2 separate regions of the Homo sapiens genome follow, and region 2 is linked to region 1. The links are contacts of gene promoters, found by promoter capture Hi-C in human tissues and cell types (Jung and others, 2019). All regions are on one chromosome and are shown on one strand. Each heading gives the region's core, a stretch centred on a gene start or on the middle of the fragment in contact. The rest is flanking DNA. Distances are from core to core; before and after follow the strand shown.

Evidence for each region. Contacts are between HindIII fragments. The study calls those that stand out against the background at their distance.
Region 2: a fragment that was not itself captured here is called in contact with the fragment with the promoter of GRPEL2 in region 1 in 1 of the 25 tissues and cell types used here (dorsolateral prefrontal cortex).

The regions. Positions count from the first base shown.
Region 1 is chr5:149,342,251-149,346,748 of GRCh38, forward strand. It overlaps GRPEL2 (GrpE like 2, mitochondrial), which reads left to right and starts at 3,249. Exons shown (of 4, transcript NM_152407.4): 1 at 3,249-3,366. The coding sequence starts at 3,290. It overlaps AFAP1L1 (actin filament associated protein 1 like 1), which reads left to right. Exons shown (of 19, transcript NM_152406.4): 19 at 1-1,387. RefSeq lists enhancers at 2,932-3,557, 3,558-4,181. The HindIII fragment of the contact is 4,441 bases long and covers 1-3,956 here.
Region 2 is chr5:148,718,392-148,722,782 of GRCh38, forward strand. No RefSeq gene overlaps it. Among named protein-coding and RNA genes, the nearest start is that of HTR4, 66 kb to the left of the region's middle. RefSeq lists an enhancer at 1,132-1,703. The HindIII fragment of the contact is 5,202 bases long and covers 295-4,391 here.

The DNA.
Region 1 (4,498 bases), core at 1,999-4,498:
TCCCTTTAGTTTTCACTGAAACCCTGAGATAAGTTATATTGCCCTAGTTTTCACAGTTCAGGAAATGGAAGCTCACAGAGGTCAGGTAACTTGTCCAAGCTCCCATAGTTCTTATATTTACATGCTGGTGGAGCCAGCATGTGAATATAAGAAGTCTGACCCTAGAGCCTTATTCTTAATTTTAAAGCTCTATGTCATCCATATATCTCCCTCCCCTTGTACTGCAACATTCAGAAGCACACTAGCACTTAATAAATAGACGAATGAATGCATGGATGCAAGCAGCAACCTGGTGAACGTTAGGCAGCTAGGAGAAATGTAAGCAAAATGGCTAAGGCACAGATGCCACTTGTTCTTGGTTGTTAAAATGCCTTGTTTAGGCCAGGTATGGTGGCTCATGCCTGTAATCCCAGCACTTTGGGAGGCCGAAGCGGGTGGATCACTTGAGGTCAGGAGTTCAAGACCAGCCTGGCCAACATGGCAAAACCCCATCTCTATCAAAAATACAAAAGTTAGCTGGGCACGGTGGCACATGCCGGTAGTCCCAGCTACTTGGGAGGCTGAGGGAGGAGAATCACTTGAACCCGGGAGGTGGAGGTTGCAGTGAGCCGAGATCGCACCACTGCACTCCAGCCTGGGCAATAGCAAGACTCCATCTCAAAAAAAAAAAAATGCCTTATTTGGTTGTGTTTTTTCAAAGTGTAAGCCACAGGTCTAAGCCCAACACTGCCAAGTGTTCAGTCTGTCAGAATTCTACTGTCACTGTTTCCTTATTGCGGGATCTTGCATAGGTTTACCAACCTTTCTGAGCCTCAATTTTCTCATATGTAAAAGAGAATCATAATACCTCCCTAAACCATATCACCCTTTTCATAAGGCCAAAAAGAAAATATAAGTTATTGGTCATGACACATTTGAGTTGGACCTCGGATTAGATAAAAAGATGAAAATACTCCAGCTCTGTCCTCATGGAACTCAGAGACAAGCAGGAAAGAAAATGTGACCCAAATAACTACAGTACAAATAACCCATGTTATGACAAGATTCAGAGTGCTCAAGGAACACTTCCCATTCCCTTAAAAAAAAAAATTAAGGGACTATCCAGTAACTAAGCTGGCAACTCCAAGTGCCCTGGACCCCAGTCACCAATCCATCCTCTCAGTCTGTCAGCTTTCCATCCTAAATCTCTAAAATTCATCCATATCTTCCTATCTTCACTGACACTATCCAACTTAATTAAGTCATTCAACAAATACTTGAGTACCTACTATACTAGATGTCAGAAATCAGTGGTGAACAAGACAGACACCTCATGAAGCTCACATTCTAGTTGGAGGAAAAAACCTTAACAAGGAAGCAAAAGAAATAAAATACTAAGAAACTAAAAGGGTGCTGGACACAGTTACTTTACAGTGGTTAGGAAGGTCTCTCTCTGTTCTTCCAGGACAGAATATAGCCCCATCTTGCCTGGGCTACTGCAACATATTGCCTTCCCTACCTCTTTTCTTACACCTTGCAATCTGCTTCACACAGCAGTCAAAGTGACTCTTTAAACATGAAAGCCTTTGTCACATGTTCCCTGTCAATCTAAAATAATTTAAAAGGTCAGAATCTAGTTTAAAGAGAGTTTATTCAAGCACAAAGGTTGAGGATGGCCTGCCCAGGAAGCACAGAATGGAAAAATATGTCTGTCTTAAAAAAGATGGAAGTCAGTGTTCCAAAGTGTGAAAGGTTGGGTTCAGTGAGGTTTAACAGAATTTCAACATCTTTCTATGCAAGGCTTAATGCACAGTTACAATGATCTGAGTAGTTAAGGTGGTCTTTTTCCTTCAAGAAAGGTACATTTAACATCACATCCTGCAGATGTAACTGTCATGGGGTCAGTTCAGTTCAGGGCACCATCTAGTCTGAGTTAGGTGCAGGACAATAAAGGAGGCTGTCTATTACAAACATCAGTAATTGAGAGGGAAGAAATCTGGTCTCTGCTCTTTCCTAGTCATTACAGAACAAGAACAATGAGGAAGAGAATTAAGCTATAATTCTAAGAAGCAGAACTACAAAACATGCTACATGGACTCAGACCACAGCCACATCTCTCTCAAAGCTTCAAGTATTTGGGAGGTTCCAACAGCTTTTAGGTTTTATTTATTTTCACATTCCATTGCAATCAGAATCAGACTAAATTGCATTCAGCAAAAAAGTTTTTTGAAGCCGGGGGCGGTGGCTCATGCCTGTAATCCCAGCACTTTGGAAGGCTGAGGAAGGCAGATCACCTGAGGTCAGGAGTTCAAGCCCAGCCTAACCAACATGGTGAAACCCTGTCTCTACTAAAAATACAAAAATTAGCCGGGTGTAGTGGGCGCCTGTAATCCCAGCTACTGAGGAGGCTGAGGCAGGAGAATCACTTGAACCTGGGAGGCAGAGGTTGCAGTGAGCCGAGATCGTGCCACTGCACTCCAGCCTGGGTGACAGAGTGAGACTCCATCTCAAAAAAAATAATTTTGAACACCTACATTAGGGCACTGCTCAATGGGAATGAATAGACAATATCTCTGCCTTAAAAGAGCTTATATTTTAGTGAGAGGAAATGAGAAAATACACACTATTTAAAAAAACAATTCAGTCGATAAGAAGGGCATTAGAGAAAAAGACTGGGAGGAGTGATGGGCAATGGTTCAGGCTGCGATGTTTTAAACCGCTCACGTGATCTAGCCCTTCCTAACCACCAGTCCTGTTGCCCTCCCGCCTCAGTATATTTCAGTCCCTTACATGCAATACTCTTCTCTCTTTATTAGGCTTCTGCAGATGTTTCCCTCTGCCTGAACCCTTTCTTCAGCTCAGCTCAAATACCCCCTTCCTCTGGGAAAACTTTCCACAAGGCTAGATTTCTATTCTAGGCTTCCGCGACACCTGCCCCTCACCTTCAAACACCGCTCATATTCTGACTTTACATCCCGCTTGTATCTGTTTATCGCTCATAATATCAAGTAAGCTCCATGCGGGCACAGCTATGATCTGCTTTCTTTGCTGCCGACCCTGCGCCCAGCACGGAGACTGTAGTTACTACTAGGACCTCGCCTACCCGCGGAACACACTGAGAGCCGGAAGTGTTGCCTTAGCTCCGGACGACCGGATGGGGAACGGCGCGGCCCATCGGGCAACCGGAAGCATAGCGTTCCTGTCCGGAAGTCCTGAGAGGGAAACGCCCGCAAAGGCTGGTTTTTAAGCGGGAGCATCTCTTCACTCGCAGCAAGTGCGCGTGCGCTGCCTCTCAGCCCAAATTGGAAACATGGCCGTACGGTCGCTGTGGGCGGGCCGGCTGCGGGTGCAGCGCCTACTGGCCTGGAGTGCCGCGTGGGAGAGCAAGTAAGCATTGCAGGCGGGGAGTCGGGAGCGTGAGGACTCTGAGGGGCTAGCGAGCCAGCCGGGGTGGTTGTGGGCTGGAAGGCGAGAGCTATCTGAGCGTAGGCCAGGGGACCAAGCTTCTCGGCCTCTACGACCGTGCACTCACGGCCCCATTTTACAGACGGGGAAACTGAGGCCATCAGCCGTGCCTCTTTCTTAGGCCGAGGAAGGTAAGGAGATCCGAGGTCATGCATGGCCTGGAAGGTGAGAAGTCTCTTAAGCCCCCAAGGGAGGGATGTACCACTCTCCCGGCCTCTTCTCCCAGCCTGTGGTACCTGTGGGTAAATTTGGGTTCTCTCCCCTCACTCCGTGTGACCTAAGGCCAGTCCTTTCTCCGTTATCCGGGCACTGTTGTACCTGTCAGTAAAAGGAGGCCGCTGAACTTGTTTCTCCAAACGGCCATTGCATCAGCCTTCGGAAGACAAGTTCCATCGGCAGCTTTTATTGGTCGCTTACGAGGCCGACTGCAGAATTATGGGTGGTTCTTTTTATTATTACCCATTTAGTAGTTAAGGAAAGTGAGGTTTAGAAAAGTTGAGTAACTTCCAAACTTAAATATTTGGGAAGTGGTGGAACCCGGGCTGGAAACCAGTCAGGGCGTTGGAATCGGCGCTCTTATTTAATGAGCGATGTTAATTAATTTTCTCAGAGACTGTTGCCCCTACACTGTTTCTTCCTGGGATAGAGAATAAAAATAGTTGAGTACGAGGTAGGGTTGGACCTCTGAATAGTAAAGTAAGCTACGGGAGAATCTGGTAAATGTGCTTAACTACATATGTCACCCTTTTTACCTTAACACACCTGACCCAACATCCTACCCTAGCACCTAAGTGAGAGGTTGCATTCAGGGTTTCGGGACTTGGTTTTGCTTACCGTTCTCAAGTCTTTTTGGCAGCTTGTTGGTGATGTAAGGAAATGACCAGAAGAAAAATGGTTCCTTCTGGTAAGCTGTCTCCCTACTCCAGTTCTGAAGCAGTAGGAATTGAGATTGGCCACAACTCCCCAACCCTATTTCTTGGTCTAAGCTTTGGCCATTTTCCCTTTGAACTGGCCCTGAGAATTTTTTTTTTTTTTTTTTTTTTTTTTTTTTTTT
Region 2 (4,391 bases), core at 1,646-4,145, 620 kb before region 1:
TAACTCATGAAGCAACCCACCTTTAATATGGTACAGAACATATAGTAGCTAACAAAAATCCAACTAGAAGAATAATAGATTAGACAGGGCTCTTGGACAAGGAACACCAGTCCCTTTTGCTTCAGAGTAATTGCAGGTGAACCTGCAGGAAGAAGCCTAGGAAAGTTAGTATTTCCGCTACGCTAATAAAGATTTTAAAAAGTTTTCTCCCTTTGCATCTACTTTTTGTCATTGCTGGGTACCATGTGGCAAATAACGATTTATTAATATTCTTCCAGATAAAATGATCTCTGTACTCTATTAAGTCATCTAGCACCCCAAAAGGCCCATGACCACTGGGGTAGGTGTGTATTTCACTTATTTTTGTAACTTATTATTGACTTAAGGATTATTAAGACATACTGTCAAAAAGTGCTGTGTGGCAAAAGCTGATAATTACCAATTTCATGCCCATTTTCCCTTCCTCCTTCAGAATAGAAACCTAGTTTTGTCAGGGATATCGGTGTGCACTGATACAAAATTACTTTTTTCAGCCTCATTTTAAGATAGCAGTGGCCAGGTAACTAAGTTCTGGATAAGGCTTTCAGGAAGGGTAAGAGGCTCTTTTTTGTTTTTCCATATTTCCTCCCTCTTCCTGCCCGGAATAAAGACTTGATATCTGGAGCTACTTTGTCTGTCTTGCTCCTTGAAGTTGGAAGTCACATGTTAATGACGACAGAATAAAAAGATAGCAGTCTAGGACATAGGTGGTATCCTAGAACCACTTCTACAACTATAGAAAGTCAACCTACAGACTACCTGTATATGAGAAAAAACAAACCTTCATCTTGTTAAACCGTATTGGTTCAAGCTTTCCTTATTAGCCCCCAAATGTATTTCCTAATTGCATCATTCTCTGTGTGGCTAAATAAGAACAGAACAAAAAATATTCAATCAAGGTATGAAAAAAAGAACAAAACATTTAAATTCTATGACTGTCAAGGAAGCGTTCATTAAGTGTGAGGAAGGGATTACTAGGTGGCGGTCATGGGAGAGCTATGATGTCCAAGTTGGCTACAGGAGAAGGGTTTTTATAAAAGAAAACTCTAAGAATCCAAGATATTTTATCTGTGGTTTCAAACACTTCACCCTTTGTGCAATTATAAAACTGCATTATTCATTAACATTGAATTTGTTTAGTCTGTAGGAGAAATGACTGATCATTGTAAAGTGTTTCTGGGATACTTTGGAATCTATTTAATGAAAAATCAAATGAGACAGGATAACAAGTTTAAGTTCATTTGAGTCAACATCAATGCCAGTTACTCCAGAAGCAGGAAAAGAGACCAGCAGAGAGGAAGGTAATAGAAAGCTCTTGGCGCTGCTTTCCAAATTACCTCTAATCCACTAACGGGCTGGAGACATCTTACAAATGCTAATTAATTAAGCCCCCTACCAGTCAAATGATGACTGTAGGAAGACGCCTCTGTGATACAGGTCTGGACTTTAAGAGAACACAGGGGGCTAGTAATGGACATGTAGTTAAGCAGGCAGTTGTTGAAGTCCTGTAAGGTCAGTTAAGGCAGTGAGAAGCACTAACCAAAGAAGAGTACAGAATTGAGAACTTGGAGCAACGTGTGTAATCAGCAATGACCTCTTTGCCCTCTTCTCCACGCAGTTTTCCACTTCTACTTCAAGCTAAAATAAGCACATTGCACCCTAATCTGAGAATTCTTTGTCTTCAGAAACTCTTCTAAGTTTCACCTTTGTGTTCTTTCAATTGCTCATTAATAACACACACATTTGCTAGAAATTATCATCTCATGGTATTGTCCTGTTTTCATGCTTCCTAAATTGTGTTCTGCTGAATCACGTTACAGAGGACATTTGAATCAGCCACAATACTTTTGGCTGCAAATAAAAGAAAGTTCAACTCAAAGTGGCTTAAACTATAAAGGGAATTTATTTTTTCTGGTTCACTTAACTGATGAGTTCAAAGGTATGTCAGCTTCAGGCACTGATTTAAGATTAGGGTACTCTGTTTCCCTGCATTTCTCTTGGTGCTATTCTCATCTGTTTGCTCTTTCCTCTGGCTGATTTCTATCAGTAACAAAATGCTACTTCATTTGGTGAGGTGTCTGGTGACACTGTTATATATCAGAGCATTCAAAGAGTTTCTTTGCTCAGATACCAAACAAATGCTTTGAGCTTCATCACTAATAGACAAAATTAGATTATGCACCCACTCTGGAAAAACATTTACTGACCCAAAGAATGGTGAATGAGTCAGTTTAGGCTAAGTGGTACTGGGATAGCAAATGACCCCAAACTGTCAGTGGCTTGCAAAGTAACAAAGGTTTATTCTCATTCAACTTGCATGTTGGCAGCTGCAGATCAGCTGAGACTTGAGCCATCTCCTCTTCATTTTGAAACCCAAATTGAAGATGAAGTCACTGTCTAGGACATATTAATCTTGTAGCAGAAATAAACGAGTAATAGCAGAATTATATGGTGACTCTTAAAACTTCTGCTTGAAACTGGCACAGATAACTTCCACTCACATTTTGTAGGGCAAAGAAAATCATTGCCTAAGCTTTTGTCAATGGGATGAAAAGTAAAATCTTTCTGGAAGAAAATCCAGATAGGATGAGTTTGAAATATTTTGAACATAATGCAATCTACTGCAAATGCTATATGTTGATTGGCTTAAACTGGGTTGCTCATCCCTAAATCAGTTACCAGGTGAGGGAGATGGGATTATTCCTTTGGGTTTATATCAATCAAGGTCTACTCCTCTAAGTGAGAATGAGATGAATCATACCTAAACCACCTGGTCTAATTTACCTACCAATAGATAGGGCATATTGGATACACCTTTTAAACATAAGAAACCTGGAACTTATAGGATTGAGACTTCAATCCTTGAGACATCAATGCTTGAGACTTCAGAGCCAGAATTTAAAGCCAGGTCACTTAAATTTATAGCTAATTATTTCCATCGTACTAAAGACTTTGAAATTGGTACTACTATATCTAAAAACAATCTCCTTACCTGACTCATTTGACCAACAAATTTAACATAGGTAAAGATCATATTGGAAATTTACTATTACTTTTGGACAATCACCATCTTTAAAATAATTAATAGGTCTCAAATTTGAAAAGCCACATCAATTGGAGAAAAAAAATTAGAAAATGGCATATTTCATCTAGAAAAACAGGCATTCTCATACAATGCAGTATGGAATATATATTGTACAAACTTCCTTAAGGTCAGTTTGGCAGTACTGTATCACTCAAAGCAAAAGCCTTTAAATGTGCTCATAGATTCACCCAGTAATTCCACATCTAGGAATTTATCTCATGCAAATAACCATGGATGAGTGGGAAAAAATAATAAAAATAAAAATAAACCACAAGGGTGTTCAATGAAACAAAAATTTAAACAATCTAAATATTCAAAACAATGGGATTTGTCAAGTAAACCAAGAAATATGCATTCAACAAAGTACTATATGCTATTAAAAAAGAACTTTACGCCTGGATAGTTAATTACATAGAAAGATTTTTAAAAATTGTTCTGGCAAATGTGAGTTAGTAAATGGTATATGCAATATGTTTCCTTTTATATATATGCAATAATAGAAGATTTGGGTTTTTTAAATTTTTGTTTATGTTTATACTCAAATTTTCTACATCAAATGTATATGACTTTAGATGTGTATGAATTTCATACTAAGAAAATAAACAATAAAATTTTCTTTTTTAATGAGTCACCCTCCTAAAGCCAAGTGAAACAGATGAGATTACCAACTGCAGAAGTAATTAGCTCTAAGAATATGTTGCTGATTAGACTAGGATGTCTCTCACATATGATAGAAGAGATTAAAATACAACCTAAGCAATCTATGATATGTAGTTTTGTGATAGCCCAACAAAACTGGTCTAGAAAAGTGGAAAATTCTGATTTAAAATGATCAGTATGACTTTCACCCTTGTCAGAGAGTGAGGCAGAATTTTACTTAGGCAAAAGATGGCCAAATATCCAAATGTTCCACTTTGGTGTTTAACAATACCAGGTTCCTTTTATTTTAATCCTGTACTGACCAAGCTATCTTCTGTCTGGATTTTTCTCTTTCATCAATAAGCAAAACCTCACGTCATGACACATGTTATTTGTCCTGACTGGTAGAATTCCTACTGAACCTGTCAAGGAAAGAATTCTGGTCTACAAGCCAGTTTTTGGGGAAATGTAATCAGTGTCATTATGTTTGTCAAGCTCATTTTCAATTAAGAATGAGGTAATCTCATCAAGTAGGGGACAGCCAACTGGCTTCTTTCTCTTTATTAACATTTCCACTTTCTTCTATACTTATAAAATTTCCAGTGAAACTAGATATGTTGGCCAACGG